3 separate regions of the Homo sapiens genome follow, and regions 2 and 3 are each linked to region 1. Evidence: promoter capture Hi-C in human tissues and cell types (Jung and others, 2019). All regions are on one chromosome and are shown on one strand. The core of a region is centred on a gene start or on the middle of the fragment in contact, and the rest is flanking DNA. Distances in the headings are between cores, read along the strand shown.

Region 1 (4,897 bases), core at 1,496-3,995:
GGCAGGGGCTGACCTGCCCCAAAGCCCCAGGTGTGAAGGTGGATCGGTATTCAGAGCCTCTGTCTCCTCACCTGGCAGGGGGTCCGGGGAAAAACTGACCACCTCTCGAAAGACTGTCTCTTCTTCTTCATCTTTGATGCTAAGCAAAGAGGGAGTTGTACATTTATAAATAAAAACATAAATAGGTAAGAACACTTAGAAGCAAATGGACCAGTTTCATCTAAACACAGAGAGATATTCTCTGCCTTATGTTGTTTAATATTAACTATAGAAACATTGTATAAAGCAAGGAAGTGCCCTGTGATAATCCTAAGGTTTTACCTATATTAGCAACCAGGGCTTGGCTTCCACATGGACACACGTACCAATGATTACTCCTAAGAATAAACCTTACCCTAGGCCAGACGCAGTGGTTCACGCCTGTAATCCCAACACTTTGGGAAGCCAAGGCAGGCGAATCACCTGAGGTCAGGAGTTAAAGACCAGCCTGGCCAACATGGCAAAACCCCATCTCTACTAATACAAAAATTAGCTGGGCATGGTGGCACACGCCTGTAATCCCAGCACCTTGGGAGGCTGAGGCAGGGAGAATCACTTGAACCTGGGAGGCGAAGGTTGCAGTGAGCCGGGACTGTGCCACTACACTCCAACTTGGGCAACAGAACGAGACTCCATCTCAAAAAAATAAATAAATAGAATAAACCTTACCCTCTAAAGCAGCCACCCCAATACCACAAAGACCAGACATAAATACTTCACAGGGTCCCCAGGATTTTCTATGGCCAAGGGGCAATATCCAAATACCCAAAGCACCAGAAAGTTTCAGGTCCTAAGAGAGCAGAGACCAGGCTTCCTCTATAGGCCACACTTCCCTAAGTGCCTTCCGCGCTGTTCATGGATGTATGTTACAGGGAGAAAGAGTTCCTTCGTTCCTTCGGTACATTAACATGGAAAGCTCCTAAATACATCTCAAACCACTTTCTTTTAAAAATTGATTGATTAATTGAGACAGAGTCTCGCTCTGTCGCCCAGGCTGGAGTAAGGTGGTGAAATCTCAGCTCACTGCAACCTCCAGTTCCTGGGTTCAAGTGAGTCTCCTGCCTCAGCCTCCCAAGTAGCTGGGATTACAGGCATCTGCCACCACGCCTGACTAATTTTGTACTTTTAGTAGAGACTGAGTTTCACCATGTTGGCCAGGCTGGTCTCAAACTCCCGAACTCAGGTGATCACACGCCTCAGCCTCCCAAGTGCTGAGATTACAGGCATAAGCCACCATGCCTGGCCTAAAAAATCATTATTATTTTAGGAGCAGTAAGAAGACACCGCAGTGGCTATTTAGAGGCCATGGCACCAACGTTGAGATTCCCTAAATCTACCAACGCCCAAGGCCACTTCTTTGTTCACTGAGTTGTCATCTGCCATCACTCCACTGCCATTCAGAGGCCTGTTGCAAAGAGTCCTCTGTAGCATCTGCCATCACCAAACACTGACCCAGGGCCTCCAGAATGACATTGGGAGACCCTGAGAACTGCAGGGGTCGGGGACGGATTCAAGCAGAGATGCCGCAGTTGTTCCTCTCCACCTTCCTTTTCCAAAGCCCCCTTCCTCGTTGATGTCCTTATTATACTTCAGCCACCCCCTCCCAGACCTTCTCAGAACAATCCCACACCAGGTCACCTTTGTCACCTGTCATTCCTCCACTAGGAGGGAAAGAGCCATCTCCACATTCCTCCTGTCCAAAAATATCTTTCCCAGCAGCCAGCCTTCATCCCATCTTCATGAGGTCTGAAATGCTCAGCAGTCTCACTGCTTTGGGTTTAGAAACAAAGCTACGGCTGCTGTTTCCGGAAGCCATGTCTGTGCTCCTAACTTCTCCCCCTGCAACCTACTGAGGGGGAGTTTACCGGGTGGGCAAGTGCCCCCCAAAGGAAGGAAGCCCAGCCCAGAGGGGCATGTTCGTCCCTTTCTGTCTCTGTGCTTTGGCCCTTTCTGTTCCCCGCCAGTTGGATACCCTACTCCCTATTCTCCACCTACTGAAGGCTTCCTCCTCCCCAAAGACTCAGTTCTAGTGTCACCCCTACAGAAGGCCACCCCTTCCACCAGCCGGCATCCACTGAGCCAGGCATGAGCACCGCCGCCGGGATCTTCCGCATAGACCAGCGACGTGGGAAGCAGGGGTCTGGCCGGGGCGTCGGGATTCCCGCTGGGCCCCGCGGCCACTCGGGTTTGCACCCGTATTTCTGAGATAGGCAGGGGTCACGCACGGGGGCCGGAGGCCGCTGCCCGGCAGTGGCGCGAGGACGGCGGGGCGGACCGGGGCGGAGGGGCGCTGCCACCCTCTGTCCCTTACTGTGCACGGAGCGGACACAGGCGCCGGCCCCCCGCCCCTCGGCGCGCCCGTGCCGGGAAACCTCGGGCCCCGGGGCCACGGACTCTCAGCCCCGCGGATCGGGGTTCACGCGGGCCCCGCAGCCCCACCTCCTTCCCGGCCGCCGCCGCCGCGGCCGCGGCTCCTGATCCTCCTGCTCCTCCTGCGTCCCCGCCTCCGGGGCCGCCAGCCCCTGCAGCTGCCGCCGCCGCCGCCGTGTAGCCGACCGGGTGACCGTCACCGCCGCGGCCTCCATGACACTGTCCGCGCACGCCGAGAGGCAATCGCAGGCCCGGGCCCGCCCCCGCGCCGCGCTCGGCCAATGGGAAGTGCGCAGCGCTGACGCCGCGCTGGGACGGGACTCCGAGCTGACTCCCGGCCAGCGGCCGCGCGGCGGGGACTTTGTTGAGGCGACAGGCCGGGGGCGGGGCCGAGGACGGGGCGGGGCTGTGAGGGGCGGGGCCTGGGCGAGTTCCGAGCCCAGGGTTCGTCGTCGTTCTTGTTGTTGCCCATCATTGGCTATGAGTCCAGGGTGCTAGAAGGCTCTAGAAGGCTTCGGAACGCCCCAATCTTAGAGTTCTCTCTTTAGCCTCACCAGCTTCCTTTGTCAAGCAAACCGAGGTTTATCCCAGAGAGATTAAGCAATCTCCCAGAGGGCACAAAGTCAGCAAATGGTGGCAATGAGATTTTAACTCATGCAGCTAACCCCTATTAAAAGATAATTTTCAGACCGGGCGCGGTGACTCACGTCTGCGATTCCAGCACTTTGGGAGGCCGAGGCGGGCGGATCACCTGAAGTCAGGAGTTCGAGACTACCCTGGCCAACATGGTGAAACCCCGTCTCTACTTAAAATACAAAAATTAGCCGGGCGTGGTGGTGCATGCCTGTAATCCCAGCTACCTGAGAGGCTGAGACTGGAGAATCGCTGGAACCCGGGAGGCAGAGGCTGCAATGAGCCGAGACGGTGCCATTGCACTCCAGCCTGGGCGACAGAGGGAGACTCCGTCTCAAAAAAAAAAAAAAAAAGATGAAAGGTTAGTAGGTTAGTATCGGGCCATGTGGAAGCTGGTGTCCTATGTAGGATGCATAGTTTTCCAGTGAAACACGGATTTCTTTCTACAGCCCCACGCCTGTGCCCAACAGTAGTAGTTGCTCTACCCCTAAGCGTGCAGGGCCTGGAGTGGCACCTCTGCAAGAGTGGCACTGCCCAGCGTCTTAGGCACAAAAGGAGTTCACAGGAAACATGATAGAACAGAGCCCTGAGAAGCCAGAACTCAAGGCTGGGCCCCACAGGGCAAACCAAGGCTCTCCTCCCTCCAGGCCCCAACGCCCCTCCACAGCTAGGAGCTTCCAGTGCTGGGCTGCAGCTGCCGCCCAAGCCAAGTTGACTGGGCCTTTATTATTGTTGCAGACTTTGAACTTTATGAGGCTCCAAGCTTCCATAAACGCCAATGGTGGGAACTATGACTAAGGTTGTTGAATATGGGCCATGGTGCAGGCCAGCCAGTTAGGCAGGAAGGACGGGCCACTCAGAAGCAGGACACGCTGACCCATGGGGAGGACAGAGAAGGCAGAGGGCTCCTCTTTGGGGCTTCAGTCCTGGGAAGCTTACAGTGAGCGAGGGCAGTGGATCCCCAAGTTCCCTCCTGCTGTGTTCAGGGGTGCACCGGACGTGGACAGTCTTGATCTGGGGTGCATGTAACCAGGTGTTCCCAAGCCCTCACCTGCAGCTTAGCAATAAAAATAGATAAACTTTCATCCTACCCAGGTTAGAACACAGTTCTAAGGGATACTTTGAACAGCCTTTGGGTAATGCTCAGTCTCTGGGAGAAAATATGCCCAAACCTCCCTTTTCTTCTCTCCTTTCCAAAGAGTAGGCACCTGGTCTAGAAGAGCAAGAAAGTGAAGGCAGCCTTGCACGCCCCTGAGGACAGAAAGGACTTAGGCCTTGTGGCCTCTTGTTAGCCCCTGTGGCTCGTGGTCTCTCTGGATGTCAGGCCAAGCCTGGAGGGGCCCTGTCTGCCTTGAGCTCACATTGGCTCATACTGGGGCTCTGGATCCGTTTGAGGCCTGAGTGGGCCCTCTAAAACCCTAACCTTCTGGTGTTTTCAGATAACATACAGAGCAATCAGTTAAATTTGAATTCCAAATAAATGATGCCTGGGACATAGGACAAGCTTATATTAAAAAGTTATTGCATATTTATCTAAAATTCAAACTGAACTAGGATGCTGTCTATGCATTTGCTAAATCTGGCATCCCTACCTGTGAATCTGAACTACAGCCTCGGCAGAGCCACCCTGCCCTGTTACAGGGGCCCCTCTGACACCTCCCTGCAGGCTCTTGGCTGTCCTGGGCTCTGCCCACACCAGTACTGGTTGGTTTGGGACAGCTGAGCCTCGGGTCTCCCTGCCTGACCATGCTGTCCCATCAGCTTCCTGTTGCAGGTCGTGACGCAGTGCATGCACTTGCCTCTGCACCCCCCCTCGCCATGCCCAGAGCGCCCGGAGTGGGGACCTAGAGTCACA
Region 2 (4,802 bases), core at 1,074-3,573, 270 kb before region 1:
GAGTGCGAGTGGTGAGAGGTGGGAGGAGAGGGTGCAGGCAGGACTGTGCCTGGCCCCGCAGCCCACAGCTCAGTGGAAGGCACGTGCAGGGGCTGAGCAGGGATAGGTCTGGCTGCTCGGTGAGGGTGAAGCAGGGACTCCAAGCAGGAAACTTGCATGGTTGGGGCAGGAGATGATGGAGCGCCAGGCGTGGGGATGGGGAAGGAGCCAAGAAATGGGTACATTTTGGAGACAGAACTTACTGGACTTGGCAGTGAGTTGAATTTGTGGGAAGAGGGAGAGATAGAGGCACAGCTGGCTTTCAGAGGGGATGTAGCTAATAAGGTGCCTGGAGGGATTGTTTACCCACATGAAGGATGCAGAGGGAAGAGCAGGGTTTCTCGGAGAGTGGAGATGTCGGGAGATCTGCTTGGACACATTATGATTGAAAAAGTGGGTTTAGGCCGGGGGTGGTGGCTCATGTCTGTAATACCAGCACTTTGGGAGGCCGAGGTGGATCACCTGAGGTCAGGAGTTGGAGACCAACCTGGCCAACATGGTGAAACCCCGTCCCTACTAAAAATACAAAATTAGCCGGGCATGGTGGGGCATACCTGTAAGCCCAGCTACTTGAGAAGCTGAGGCAGGAGAATCACTTGAACCCAGGAGGCGGAGGTTGCAGTGAGCCGAGATGGCACTACTGCACTCCAGCCTGTTTAAAAAGAGTGAAACTCTGTCTCAAAAAAAAAAAAAAAAAAAAAAAAAAGGAAAAGAAAAGAAATTGGGTTTGTTCTGATGGTAACCAGCAAGACCACTAGCTCCTTGCTCCAAACTCACCCCTAGGGGAAGAATAGAGTGAAACCAATGAGACAGCAGATGGAGGGGGTGAGGGGTTTCAAATCATTGTGCATGGGGCTATGGCTTTGGCCTGGAGCAGGGGTGGGCCAAACACAGCTATGGGAGAATAAGCGTGAAGGGGAATGTTTGATGTCTGTTCTTACTTAGCCCAGCTCCAGCCACTATTGCCTTGGGACAAACCATGCCTGTCTATACCTGTGGCTATGCAGGGCTCAGGTGCAGGTGTTAATACAGCACAGCAGCAGAGGGACCTGTGCTCACAGGGAGCCAAGCAAAACAGGTGCAGCCCACCTGACCCCAGCAGTCACTTCCCCGCTTTTCTGCAGACGACCAGGAGACTGCACTATTTCAGGCTTGGGGAGGTCCCTCTGAATGCCGCATCTCTCAGGAGGGGGAAGGTGAAGCTCTGATCTAAGGAGGAATTTGGTGGAGTGGATGGGGTTGACTGTGATTTTTTGGAGCCTCTCCACTTGGAGTACATTCACCCACCGCTCTCTGAGATCACTCAGGCTTACTGGGCTACCCACCTCTCAGACAGGGCAGGGCAGAGTAGCAGACTTCCACTGGAGGGAATGAGCTGGCAGGCAAAATAACAAGGTATTCGAGAAGCACAAGCATTTTTTTTAAGGCAACAAACTGAGTTACAGCTTCCAGATTCTATCAGAATAGAAATACCAGAACAGAGGGACCAATTTTAAAAATAAGCTTAATAAACCTCCTAAATGAGATAAGGGACATATTAGCAATGTGAAATAAGATCAAGAAGATATACAAAGGAACCGAGTAGAAATTGTTGGTGTTAAGGTATAGCTGTGGAAATAATGCGATACAGGAGAAAAGTACTAGAATAAATAACTGAGGAATGCATTTGTGAATTGGAGGACCAGCTTGATGTATCAGCCAAGAAAAAAATAAGGAAAAGCACAAAGAAAAAGAAAATAGAAAAGTTCTAACACAAGGAGGAAAGAAGTTAAGGTGCTAATGTTAAGTTGTTAACATGTGGATCATAGAAGTCCTACAAAGAGAGAAAAATAAAAATATAGAAGAGGACATATATGAAGAAAATGTGGAGATAAAATCAATGGGATTTAAAGAAAAAGGATGAAAGAGCCCAGGTTGAAGAGGTCTTGGAGTCCCAAAAAGAAGAGATAAGAGGGAAACAAAACCTATACACTTACAGTGAAATTTAAGAATAACAAAGATAAAGTTCTTAATGTTTCCAGACAGGAAGAGATCACACACAAAGAGCAAGTTATTATACAGACTTCAGGATTTTCAACAGCTATGCCAGATGCAGGAAGACAATGGAGTGATATATTCAAAGCACAGAATAAAAGAACATAGAACATAGACTTTTACATGCAGCCAAATTGTCATTCAGATGTGAAAGCTAGTAAAACTTCCATTCTCCTATGCAGTGCAACAAAGAGAGAAAAAGAAGCTAGATGTGTAAGGATTGGAAAGAACAAAAAATTGTATTATTTTCAGATGATATGATCATTTACATAGAACCCTTGCCCAAATCTACACAAAATCTTTTAGAAACTGGAGAGTATAGCAAGTTATCTGGCATAAGTTTAACTCAGTTTTTATCTACATACCAGCAGCAAACACACACAAATAGAAGACATTGTTTTTAGTAGTATCAGAAAATGTCAAATACCTAGGAATAAATTTAATTTTAATTTAATTTTAAAATGCTTAAGACTTATACAGGCAAAATGTACAACTTTATGAAGTGTAAGTAGAGGAGTTCTAATAAATGAATAGGAAGTTTTTATATCATTAAAATGTCATTTTCCCCATGTTGATCTATATTGACTACAGCCAATGCAATTCTGATTAATTCCCAATTGGAGCCTCATCAAATGACGATATAGAAGATTAAGACACCAAAAATTAGCCAGAACCCCTCTGAGGAGCAGAGCATGAAGGAGATACTTCTCCTATCGCATATCTGGGCTCATTGTGAAGCTATGGTAATTAAGATTACCTAGTGTTGTCATAAGGATCAACCAATTAATCAATTCCCAGGATTCCCAGAAACAGATCCATGAACTTATGTAACTTTGGTTATGTTAGAGGTAGCATTTCAAATCACTGGCAAAAGGCAGGGATGTTTAACAAAGTGAGCTGGAAAAAAAAATTGTGTAGTTACCCATATACAAAGTACACTATTAGATCTCTACCTCACACCATATTTTGAAAATGGACATAGGTGGATGAAGTAGTTAAATGTCAAAAATCTCTTAGAGGAGGCCAGGCATGGTGGCTCACACCTGTAATCCTAGCACTTTGGGAGGCTGAGGTGGGTGGATCACCTGAGGTCAGGAGTTCGAGACCAGCCTGGCCAACATGATGGAACCCTCATCTCTACTAAAAATGCAAAAAATTAGCCAGGTATGGTGGTGTGTGCTTGTAATCCCAGCTACTTGGGAGGCTAAGGCAGGAGAATTGCTTGAACCCGGGAGGTGCAGATTGCAGTGAGCCAAGATCACACCACTGCATTCCAGCCTGGGTGAAAGACTCCATCTCAAAAAAACAAAACAAACAAACAAACAAAAAACAAATCTCATAGAGGAAAATGTCTTAAACAAGACACATCAAATGAGTATAAAAAAAGATTGACAGACTTGAGTACATTAAAGTTAAGAAAAAATAAGTGCTTTTTAATTCAATATATTGAATGGTTTAGAAAAAGTGAAGTCTTTAAGAAGTGAAAAGACTAGAAGAAAATATTGGCAATACACACAACTGACAAAAGATTAGTATCAAAAATGTTTAAATAACTGAAAATCAAGAAGAAAAGTATAAAACATCCCAAAAGAGAAAAAAGCAGAGGACAGGCAGGAATTTCATACAGAAGAGAATATATAATCAATAAACATAAAAAGAGATGTTTAACCTCACTAATCAGCTGGGAAATGCAAATCTAGACCACAATGAGTAGCGTTTAACTTCCATTTGATTGGCAAGACTTTCAAAGCCTGACAAATCCAAGTTTCAGAAAATATAATGATCATCAGGCTTCTTATTCATAAGAAGGACAGCATAAATTGGTTCAATCCCTTTATGAACAGAGCAATAAAACTGATAAACTTCTATCTAGCAAGACCAACAAGGATAAACAAAAGACAAATTACCAATCTCAGTAATGAAGCAGGGGACATCACTACAGACCCTGCAGCCATTAGAAGGATAATAAGGGAATACTACAGGCAACTCTATGCACGTAAATGTCACAATTTAGGTAAAATGGATCAATTCTTCAAACAAAACAAACCAAAACAAACAGGTGGAGAAGAGAAGCTCTCAGGAACACTGCTGTTGAAGAAGACAGTTAGAATTGTCCTCTGAAGAACTCCAGCATTTAGAGTTCAGCAAAAACAACAGAGAATAATCAGCCCTACAGGCAGAGAACAGTCAGCAGTTTAGTGTCACAAAACCAAAGAAAAACTTGTTTCCAGAAGGAAGGTAGGAGTGGTCAAGTATGGTCTGAGGACAGGCAAGTGACTTCATCCTCTGAGTTTTGCAGTCAGAGGGTCAAATGTGACCTTGATAAGAGAGTTTTGATGAAGTGGTGTGGACAGAGGCAGATTGGGGTGGGTTGAAAAGCAAACAGATGGCCGGGCGTGGTGGCTCATGCCTGTAATCCCAGCACTTTGGGAGGCTGAAGTGGGTGGATCACCTGAGATCAGGAGTTTGAGACCAGCCTGGCCAACATGGTGAAAACTTCACCTCTACTAAAAATCCAAAAATTAGCCAGGCATGGTGGCATGCACCTGTAATCCCAGGTACTTGGGGGGCTGAGGCACAAGAATCGCTTGAACTTGGGAGGTGGAAGTTGCAGTGAGCCAAGATTGTGCCACCGCACTCCAGCCTGGGCAATGGAGTGAGACTCCGTCTTCTAAATAAATAAATAAATAAATAAATAAATAATCAAACAAAGTGACAACATGAATCCA
Region 3 (4,743 bases), core at 204-2,703, 390 kb before region 1:
ATTTTGGAAACTTCATCCTCCTTTGGTCTTAGCGTGTGGGGTTCAGGGTGGGAAGGGCAAATGGTCAAAGTCATGTTTCCTGGCTCCACAGTCCCTCATGGTTAACCAGTCTCTCAGCTCCTAGGGCTCAGCGAACCAAACAATGCGGACAGTAAAGCTGCAAAGTGGGAAGTGAGAGGCAGGGAGGAGGCATGACGTCTGCCTCGGGTGTTGGAGAAGAACCGTCTCCTGGGTTCTCATACCTGTGGCACCTTGCAGGGAGACAGGCCATGCTCAGGAGCCACAGAGAAATCAGAGGGTCAGAGGGCGTGGTGGGAGGGGGCAAGCAGAGGAGGAGGCCAACTTCCCGGAGGCCTTGCTCAAGGTCCCTTCCTGGGAGGACTCAAAGGCCCATAGCAGAGAGAAACACTGTGATTCTGAACAAAGACCATAGTGATCCCAGGGAGGAGAGGTGCCCACTCCTGGATCCTGGCAGGAGGCAGGTGGGGCACACGTTCCAGGGACGCTGGCACTCATGGATGGAAGCCGGAGGCCCTAAGCCCCACGGAACAGGTGCTGCCCCCCACCATCTGCAGTTAGGCAGCTCAGGAGCAGAGCTGCTGGTGGCGGTAAGCCTCTCTGTCAGGCAGGCAGAGCAGGGGGTGGCCCAGGAGTGCTGGCCACAGGTGCACAGCTGGGACATGCCCCCGGGACATCAGGTGGCCTCATGTCCTCAACATCCACATGAGTTTACCTGGTACCAAGAGAGGGATCATCTTAAAAGAAGGCAAAATGTAAAAGAAATTTGGAAGCAAGGTTCTTTGAGTTTTTCCACCTTCTCTCCCTCCTCCCCGCTCTGCCCTCATCTCCACCCACTTCTTTATTTATCACTCATCCCCTGAAATCTCTGAGGAAGGCACGCTACTCTGGGGACCTAAGCCACACATCAGCCTCTCTCAAGCATCAGAGGAGAGGTTTCCATGGGAAGCAGCACGGTGTGGCTGGTGAGAGACCCTAGGACCCCCCGTCTGCAGCAGCCCGTGCCACCAGGTGTGAGGAGGGCCTCCCGGACCCAGACCTGGCAGGTGATGCCACCGCAGTCCTGAGCCATCTCGATGAGGCCATAACACATGCCCGTGGCAGTGCCAGCTCTGCACCTTATCTAGACGTGTGCAGTGCATGCATATGGCATGTGTCATGCATGTGCACAGAGGAAGCCTGTACCTGGTTCACAGACAGGGATGTCCCCATTAAGAGACCCTGTTATGATGTCATGGAGATGGCTCATGCCTGTTATGGGGTCACCTGCCAGGTCTGGGTCCAGGAGGCCCTCTTCACACCTGGTCGTGTGGGCTGCCCTAGGTGGGGAGACCTGTGGCCTCTCATCGGCTGCACTCTGTGGCTCCCCATGGAAACCTCTCCTCCAATCCCCTGAGTTTACCACTCAAACCAGTCACTGGGCCCCATAGCAACCAAGGCTGGCAACGGCGCCTGCCGCCCGGGAGAAAAATTAGCAAAATCGCTTTCTCTTGGGGAGGGTGTGTGTGTGTGGGACTTTCATTATATAATAGGCCAATGTTTCCAGCTCACTTTCTAAAAATGCAGAGGGTCCTCCAATGGGCATGCATGGCCTGAGGTCACTGTGGCATGTTATTGGTCCCTGTGGTCTCCAGAAGGGCTGCAGGTGACCCTCCCAAGGTCCCAGGGAGTAGCCTGGGTCTGTGCTCCTTGGGGAGGGCAGGGGCTCTGCAGAAAGCCAGGCAAGGAAGGAGGGAGGTTCTGCCCTCGACTCCCCAAGGGGCAAACACTCGCAGGTGCTGCCCTTCTCCATCCTGGGTCACCCACCTATCTGGGGCAGCTTTGCTTCCCTTCCACTGCCTGTGCTCGCCCCCCGCCCCCCAGGACTCTTCCTGATCACCAAGGCCTGTGGCTTTGTGATGCTCAACCAGAGAACAATCCGGGAGAGGGTGCGGGGCCTCACAAGCCTAGGGCTTCCAGGCTAGAGGAGGGAGGAGGCCGCTGGGGCCCAGTCCCACCTGACATGCTGGAGAGATCTTGTCCCCAGCCCCACGGGGTAGAAAACACAGCCCAGCAGAGGCCGGGTCTGGGACCTTGGCTTGGAGCTGCCAGGTGTCTCCACACATGCACTTTGGGCAGAGGGAGCCTCATGGGCCAGCCCTTGGATGTGGATATGGAGACGACCTCTGGGCTGGGAGATCCAGCTGGGTTGTTCCTGGGGGCCGTGGGGATGCCCAGAAGCTTTGCTCAGGGAGAGGGGAATGGGTGCAGACATCGAGGACAGATGGAGCCGGAGGAGTGGCTTTGTGGAGGCGTAGAGAGAAACATCCAGGCTAGGGAGGGATTCTGTCCAGGCGGCCTGCACTGCCCAGGCCGCGATCCCGTGCCTACTCCCTGCTGGGCGGATGAGAGGCCACCGGGGGCTGAAGCATGGCTACCTGCCGAGTGACTCCCTAACCTCACTGCTTGCTGTGGGTCCAGGGCAGGCCCCGACGGGAGCCCTCCAGGCCAGAAGCTGGCCACGGGGCTGCTCCTCCGAGGCTGAGGCAAAGCTTAGGCTAGTTAACATGCAGGGAGTGTTGCACTTGGAGAAATTTAGATGTATTTTTTTTTTTTTTGTGCATGTGTGCTTGCATGTAAATGTGGGTAGGTGCTGTCCTGATTGATGGCAATTAGCATTTTCTAACGGGAACAGATGTTCAGATTGCCAGGAGGCTGGTACCTAACGCCCACGCTGCCATCTGTTCGCTGGGCAGGGCCAGGGGAAGCAGCCCCGACCCGTGGCCCTCCAGTCCTCCGTGGTGTGTACTTAACAGGATTGCGTGAGATTGTTTCTGGAGGGAAGAAAAATAATAATAAAGATGTTTTCGGGATTATAAATAGTTCATGCTGTTTATTATGGGATGGAGCTTTTCTCTGACGAGCAGCTCTGGTTTCTATGTGGCCTGAACAAAGGGAGCTCTGAATGGAATGCACAATGTCAGCTCCCGTGTCGGGGTGAGGGGAGGCCGCCTCGGGAAGCCAAGGTCGTGGTGCGTTTCATCGGCTCGAGGGTCTGAGGGCCAGAGGAGGAAGACACGAGGGAGGTGGAGAGAAGTCAGAGGGTTTAACTCGGGGTTTGCAGTCCTTCACTTCCACCTCGCCTTCGGAAGGCTGAGCTCATAAACGGGAGACCCTTGGGTCCCCATGGCAGTGTGGCAGGTGGGGGCTCAGAGCTGGGGCCACCTCGTGGTTCCCCACTTGCTAACTTGCCGAGCCTCACCCTCTTCACCTGTCAAATCGGGTTAGTGACCATCCGACTTCACTGAGCTTCTGCAGGGACTGAGGACTCATTCACAACAGGGCGAGCACTGTGCCAGCACGTTGCTGGCATCTGAGCGGCTGGGGCTGGCCTGTTCTCAGCTGTCCTCGGGGCCGCGGAGGGAAGGCCCTGGCCTCAGTGTGCCTGGCACCCTGCACTTCTTTCTGTGGTCAACCAAGGTGGCTCTTACGATGCTCCCAGCAGTGGCAGAAATGTATTCTCCTTCTTTTTCTTTTTTCCTTTTTGGCTTCTTAAGGCAAAACAGTTTGTTTGTTTGCTCACTTGCTATAAAAAGAGTTGCCTCCCTTCCTCCCTTCTCCTTGCCTCCCCCCGGCGTCTGCATCACGGCACGTTCCTCCAGCAGGCAGATGTCTGCGGGGGAATCTGTCGCCTGTCCTCGGGCCGCCCCGACAGATGTACTGGGCATCCTTCCTCTGTGGGCCGAGGTGCACGTGACACCTCTGTGTCCCTGCTCCGCCTTGATGGGCATCCTCCCCAAGTTGGCGGTATTGATGGACGGCACCTTGGGCAGGCACAAAGGCCCGTCCACGTAAACATTCCCCTCTTCTCCGGGCTGTCGCTAACATTTCCCCCAACGTCTTTCTGGGAATTTTCTCTGTCCGTTGGAAGAAGCTTGAAGGAGAGGAAATCGGCCAGTCTCCTTGGTGGTGAAGGGAGAGCGAACATTTCCTGATGTGCGCCCGTTTCGCAGAGGCCTCGCCACAGAGCACGAGGAGCTGGTGCACTCCTGCGTCTTCCCATCTGGATTTCCTGGTCTGGGTCCAGCAAAGCAGCAGTCAAGTTCCCCATCATTGGTGGTTGCCAAGGGCTTACGGTTAAGCCCAGGAGGAGTTTGTTTTTGCAGAGCAGCCCTAGGAAAGCTGTCACGGCTGCTACCAATGGTGGTGGAGGTGGCAGTGGCAGTGGCGATGGTGGTGGAGGTGGCAGTGGCGATGGTGGGGAGGTGGCAGTGGCAATGGTGGTGGTGGTGGCAGTGGTGATGGCGATGGTGGTGGCAGTGGCAGTGGCGATGGGGAGGTGGCAGTGGCAATGGTGGTGGTGGCAGTGGTGATGGCGGTGGAGGTGGCAGTGGCAGTGGAGATGGTGGTGGAGGTGGCAGTGGCAGTGGTGATGGCGGTAGAGGTGGCAGTGGTGATGGCGGTGGAGGTGGCAGTGGCGGTGGAGGTGGCAGTGGTGATGGCAGTGGCAGTGGCAATGGCAGTGGAGGTGGCGGTGGCGATGGTGGTGGAGGTGGCGGTGGCAGTGGCGGTGGCGATGGCGGTGGAGGTGGCGATGGTGGTGGAGGTGGCGGTGGCAGTGGCGATGGTGGTGGAGGTGTCAGTGGTGATGGTGGTGGAGGTGGCAGTGGCGATGGTGGAGGTGGCAGTGGCGATGGCAGTGGCAGTGGCGATGGCAGTGGAGGTGGCAGTGGTGATGGCGGTGGA

Evidence for each region. Contacts are between HindIII fragments. The study calls those that stand out against the background at their distance.
Region 2: a contact is called between a fragment that was not itself captured here and the fragment with the promoter of ENGASE in region 1, in 4 of the 25 tissues and cell types used here (IMR-90 fibroblasts, lymphoblastoid cells, mesendoderm cells and 1 more).
Region 3: a fragment that was not itself captured here is called in contact with the fragment with the promoter of ENGASE in region 1 in 4 of the 25 tissues and cell types used here (dorsolateral prefrontal cortex, lymphoblastoid cells, mesenchymal stem cells and 1 more).

Annotation. Positions count from the first base shown.
Region 1 is chr17:79,072,672-79,077,568 of GRCh38, reverse strand. ENGASE (endo-beta-N-acetylglucosaminidase) reads right to left here and starts at 2,745. Exons shown (of 14, transcript NM_001042573.3): 1 at 2,479-2,745; 2 at 72-139. The coding sequence starts at 2,624. RefSeq lists a silencer at 2,344-2,883. The HindIII fragment of the contact is 14,853 bases long and covers 1-4,261 here.
Region 2 is chr17:79,344,515-79,349,316 of GRCh38, reverse strand. All of the region lies in intron 2 of RBFOX3 (RNA binding fox-1 homolog 3), which reads left to right. Among named protein-coding and RNA genes, the nearest start is that of RBFOX3, 260 kb to the left of the region's middle. The HindIII fragment of the contact is 5,802 bases long and covers 1-4,802 here.
Region 3 is chr17:79,463,451-79,468,193 of GRCh38, reverse strand. All of the region lies in intron 2 of RBFOX3 (RNA binding fox-1 homolog 3), which reads left to right. Among named protein-coding and RNA genes, the nearest start is that of RBFOX3, 150 kb to the left of the region's middle. The HindIII fragment of the contact is 3,575 bases long and covers 1-3,240 here.